2 separate regions of the Homo sapiens genome follow, and region 1 is linked to region 2. Evidence: promoter capture Hi-C in human tissues and cell types (Jung and others, 2019). All regions are on one chromosome and are shown on one strand. Each heading gives the region's core, a stretch centred on a gene start or on the middle of the fragment in contact. The rest is flanking DNA. Distances are from core to core; before and after follow the strand shown.

The links. The method cuts DNA at HindIII sites, captures the fragments that hold promoters and counts their contacts. A contact is called where the count stands out against the background at its distance.
Region 1: a contact is called between a fragment that was not itself captured here and the fragment with the promoter of HTR3A in region 2, in 1 of the 25 tissues and cell types used here (lymphoblastoid cells).

The regions. Positions count from the first base shown.
Region 1 is chr11:115,068,934-115,071,633 of GRCh38, reverse strand. No RefSeq gene overlaps it. Among named protein-coding and RNA genes, the nearest start is that of CADM1-AS1, 330 kb to the left of the region's middle. The HindIII fragment of the contact is 6,637 bases long and covers 1-2,700 here.
Region 2 is chr11:113,973,659-113,976,358 of GRCh38, reverse strand. It overlaps HTR3A (5-hydroxytryptamine receptor 3A), which reads right to left and starts at 1,251. Exons shown (of 9, transcript NM_000869.6): 1 at 967-1,251. The coding sequence starts at 1,033. RefSeq lists enhancers at 367-1,026, 1,027-1,688. The HindIII fragment of the contact is 12,101 bases long and covers 1-2,700 here.

The DNA of each region.
Region 1 (2,700 bases), core at 29-2,528, 1.1 Mb before region 2:
TACAAATGTATCAGTGTGCAGCCCCGTGCAGTGAGAAAACAAATGCCCAAGGCTTCTGATGATGGCGGCTGGAGCTGAAGAGGGGCACAGGACTCTGGGATCAGTGAGAGTGTGGCCTGGGGGAGAGGAGACCGGAATGAAATGAGATGTAAAGGAGAGAGAGGAAGGGTGCTCCGAAGGTGCAAACCCCTATTCAACAGAGCGAGGGAAGCAACTCAGGAGCGCCTGGGAGCTCTGTGCTGCTTCCTGTGGAGATTTTTTTTTTTTTTTTTTAATGATTGATTGGTTGCAGGTGACGCTTCTTGGGATTTCTTTAGAGCTTGAACACATGTCCATTCAGAATCTCACTGGCTTTTACAACCTTGATGGATCATTGGAAAGAGTGGGGAAGGATTCTTCTTAGTTCAGAGAGGGGGAAGCTGAGAACCAGGAAGGGGAGATGGTAAAGACTATTGAGTTAGGGGTAAAGTTGAGATTAAAAGTCAAGTCTATCAAGAAAGACAGACTGAGCATTCACGCTCGCTGCTTACAGATGGGGATGCTGCTGCTTCTGCAGCCTGGGTGTCTCCTCTCCCCGCATCAGCTCTTCCTCCTCACAATGACCACTTTCAATGACCTCGGTGCCAGGCTGAGACGCCAGGTGGGATGTGATTTAATGGAAGGCTCCTACTAAGGTGAGCTACATCATGAGGTGCCCTTTTCTGTACCCTGTCTGCCTGTTCTGTCAAATGCTCCAAATTCCCTTTAGAAATAGGGCCCAGCTCTCTTGGCTGTGTCCCTGTGCCTGTGTATGCCCCAGAATGGCAAGAATCATGTCTTTCTTGGTCATACCCTTGGCACATCGTCAGTAAATAAATGCTGAATGGGTGAAGACTCTCCTGCCTACTAAGTCCATGTAGCTTCCGGGCCAGTCTGTAAGGAAATGGTCCTGGTAGCGGGGGAGGTCCTGGTGCCTGACTGACCTTGAGCCCCAACTCCATTTCAAACCAAGGTCCTGGGGTTTTGGGGAGCCCGTGTCTTGGACTAGCAAGGCACTTGGTGACTCATATTCAGGCTTGGTTTAGCCCAGGACCAAGCTCCGCTGAGAGAACTGCTCACAGATTGCGAAGGCTTTGTGTGTCCTTTCTAATTAGAAAATTGCCTTTGGAATTGAAATATGTTTCACAGATGAATTTACTGAACTCCTTGCCGAGGTGCGATTCTCTCATGCTTGTTGTGAGACAATCACACTCTGAGGCGGCATATGGAGATATCAACATCTCTGCAAATTATGAAATCATCAGCGGTCAAAAATAGTCCCAACTTCTTGATTGCCTGAAAATAGCTGGGCTGACCACTGGGCATATCTGAGGTGTGGACCTATCCATGGGGATGGAGCAGGAGCTTCATCTTGCTTCAGTCTCCACCTATAGATTAGTTTAGTGCCCTGTCTGTGGCTTCTCTGCTCCGGCCTGGGGCTTTAAGGGAGTCTTTCTGGAAGTAAATCTAGAACCACAGTCCACAACTCATTTATACAACAATAGCTGAGTCGAAAATGCACATTTTCACTCATGTTTATTTAAAATAGTACCATTCTTCCCATTAACTGCAATAATATTTTTGGCATTATTAGAGAACAATTCTTTCATGTTCCTAAAGTACCTGAAATTTGGGGGCACCATTTTAAACATTACCAGCAAACGGGAAGATTGGCTGAGAGGTCTCACCAAGCCATGATCAGAAAGAATTTACCAGCCATTGGCCTATGGCACAGACGCTAGGAAAGGTGTCACTCAGAAGATCTTTGTAGGAGTTAAGTAAGTTCTCATCTGCGAAGAAAGCATTGGTGCCGCAGAGACTCACATCACATGATTACTACTCATACTAGTATAATTGCCAGTACAATTGCTGCATATTATGTAATATTTAATTTTCCCAACAGCCCCCAATCTGCAGGTGAGAAAAAAGTCTCCGAGAGGCTGAGTAAGGTTACACAGCTAGTAGAACTAATGAAACCAGGTTTTAAATTTAGATGGGACCGACCCCAAGGCCCATGTTCTTCCCATGATGTGATAAGGCCTCAGGGAACCGCGTGAGGGAGAAAGCATGAGAAGGCTGGGAGGGGAGCTGACTGGGGCAGTGGCTTTCGTGACTTCCCAGCCAGACCCAGCCACAGCCTGTTCTCTAAGGCTCCTCACTGCTTCCCAGGCCTTTCCAACTGCATCTCCTGGCATACTCTCCCTAAAAATGTATGCATAAGTGAATCTGTGTAGGAACAAAGTGAGGAATGCATAGAAACCCTGGCTTCAGAGGCCTCTCCATGGGCAGATGATAGTAAGGATTGGTGTTGGGCAGTCTATTAGTTTCTCATGGCTCTAACAAAGTTCTACAAACTGGGCGGCTTGAACACAACAGGATTTTTTCCCTCTGGACATTCTGGAGGTAGAAGTCAGGAATCAAGTTGCCAGCAGGGCCATGGTCCCTCTGAGACTCGGGGTGTATCCTTCCTAGCCTCTTCCAGCTTCTGGCTGTGGCCGGCAGTCCTCGCCATGGTGCTTGTTGGCTGGCAGCTGCATGGCCCCCATCTCTGCCTCTGTCCTCACCTGGAGTCTCTGTTAGTGCACGGCATTCTCTGCTTCTCATTAGGACATCGGCATATTGGATGAAGGGACTTACCCAAAAGACCTTGTTTTAACTTGATTACATCTGCAAAGACCCTAT
Region 2 (2,700 bases), core at 2-2,501:
GATCCTGACCAGCTTGGAGAGCACTGAACTCATCCCAGCAGGCCCGGGGCAAAGGACCATTGCTAGGAGGGACAGAGTTTCTTCTCAGTCAAGGAAGCCCTCGACCACAGTCATCACTTACAGCTTGCGTTTGCTTAACCCACGGAGCACTCCCAAACGACCGCTCCCGGGAGGAAGGACATCTTACCCAGAGCTCTTCACGTCTGTCCAACCCCTGGATGGCTTCCTCTAATTGTGCCCCAGTATGCTCCACCCCAGCTCTGTAGGGAGAGAAACCTCCTAGAGGGGAATGAACATGGTCTGCAGCAAAAGGAAGCCGGTCCCTTTGTGGCTAAAACACCCTACATTCAAGGGAGTCAGGAGAAGATGGGTGTAGCGAATGTGGAGAGAAATTGGGCGTTACTGGAGTTTAGTCCTGGAAAGGAACTTGGGGAACCGCAGGCCCAGAGAACGAACTCATGCAACAAAACCAGTGAAGCTGAGGAAAGAGGACTAGACTAGTTCTGGTCCCCACTCTGCTGCTAACAAGCTGTGTGACCTTGAATGAATTATCCGCTCCCCACTCTCTGGGCCACAGCATTCCCATTTATAACAGGCAAGGGTGGACCCAATGAGTTCTAAGGTCCCTTGCAGCTTTCATTCAAATAGTTTAGGGAAAGGACAAAAAGGAGAGGAGCCCCCTCCTGGTGCCTGTCTTTTTATTTCTGATACGCCAGGCTACTTCTCTGCTCCCTTCTTTGCAAGCTCCGCTCTTGCCCCACCCCAGGACTCAACATTCCTAACTCTCTCTAGCTTAACCATGATGCCTCAAATGCTGTCATGCTCATAGGTGGTAAGATAGCTGACCTTCCTGCAGCTGCACTGTTCCCCACCCTCCTCTCCACAGCCCTCGGAGGACTGAAGCATCCCCTGCCCCACCTCAGCAGATGGTCAGCCAAGTCCTGCTGCTTCCCGAAGTCTGCTTACCTTCTCCCTGTGCCAGGAGTGTGGGGAGGAGCAAGGCGAGCAGCGCCTGCTGGACCCACAGCAGCATAGCGAGCTTTCCAAGCATAGGAGTGCCTCCGAGTGCTCAGGACGAGGCCCACCAAGGGCCAGCTTGCCTGCCCTCTGCCAACCTCATGTCCCAGCCAGCCTGCCTCTCGTGGCCACTGCTCACACCTTCTGAGGCTGCAGCCTCACACTCCCTGGGCCACCAAGGTTGGGGAGCTGCCAAGTTTTCCTGCAATCAGTCCTTCAGCTGGATCATGTTTCAGGCGGGAGGAAAGGGGAGGGGACAGCTGAGAGGGGAGCCCGCCCTAGCTGATGTCATGCTGTGGGAGCTCAGTCCACCCATTCAGCCAGGGGGCTTGGCCATGTTTCCCCAAGGAGTAACTTAGGTGGGGACAGGGGCTGCAGAAGCCCATGAGACAAGGGTGCAGCCTGACCCCTGGGAGGTGCACCACGCTGCTGCTTTCATTGATGTCCCTTGGCAAGTATGTTTCTGTGGCACTGGGCTGGGGCAGGATAGGGTGAGTCAGGCAGGAGCAGGAAGACCATTCTTTTACTCCCCAGGGTGACATAACCAAGCAGGTGACTGGGCACCTCTGTAGTTACGGGAAGGGTAACTGGAGTCACCACAGGTCTGCCCTTTTGTCCTCATCTAATTAGTTATACTTAAATAGTAAAATATATATTAAAAATAATAAAATATATAATAAAAATAAACTTTTACTATACATATTTATTTCATGCATTCTTGCCATACATAATAAATACATATAGTAAAAATAATAATAATACATGCACTTTGTAGAAAAATATGAAGAAAAATTAAAATCATCTGTAAACTTATGACTCAGAGACAGCCACTCTTAACGTTTTGGTATATATTCTTCCATAATTTTCTTCAGTAATGTGTATACAATGAAGTAAATATCACATACATATAATTTTGTGCCCTCTTTTTTTGCTTGATATCATTTCGTAAGCATTTCTTTTCTTTTCTTTCTTTCTTTTTTTTTTTTTTTTTGAGACAGAGTCTCGCTCTGTCACCCAGGCTAGAGTGCAGTGGCGCAATCACTGCTCACTGCAGCCCCAACCTCCCCCATCTCAGCTGATCCTCCCATCTCAGCCTCTTGAAGAGCTGGGACTACAAATGCGAGCCATGCCTGGCTAATTTTTGTATTTTTGGTAGTCCCCCAAAGGGACTAGAGGCATGAGCAATCACACCTGGCCTCGGAAGCATTTTCAATACCTTCCTCTTAAATGGAAGCGTCTTTCTTGAAAGAAGTGTTTCTTTCTTCATTGCAAGTTAAATAGACAAGTATCTATCCCTCAGGCCTCAGCTGTGTACCCCTAAAGTTGCCTGCAAGAAGAATTACTGTGCATTTTTATTTGAAGGAGTCCTACCCTAGCTCACCATTTGGGTAGATGTCCCCGTACCAATCAAGTTAAGTATCAACAACAAAACATTTTCTTCCTTTTTAATTTATTTTCCACTTGACTCTAAGTGTGGAATAGGCTAGGAACCCTGCAGTAAGGAGGAATTTTCTGAATTGTAGGTAAGTTAAAAAGAAAGAAAAAAAGAAAGAAACTACCTTGGTCAGGGCTGCATCCTTTCAGTTCTTATTCCTGTGCATTATGAAATCTGCATAAAGCATTATACCATTCACCATTGGGGTCCTTTCCTGTGGCCGTTAGCGGGGTGTGGTTCTGCAACGT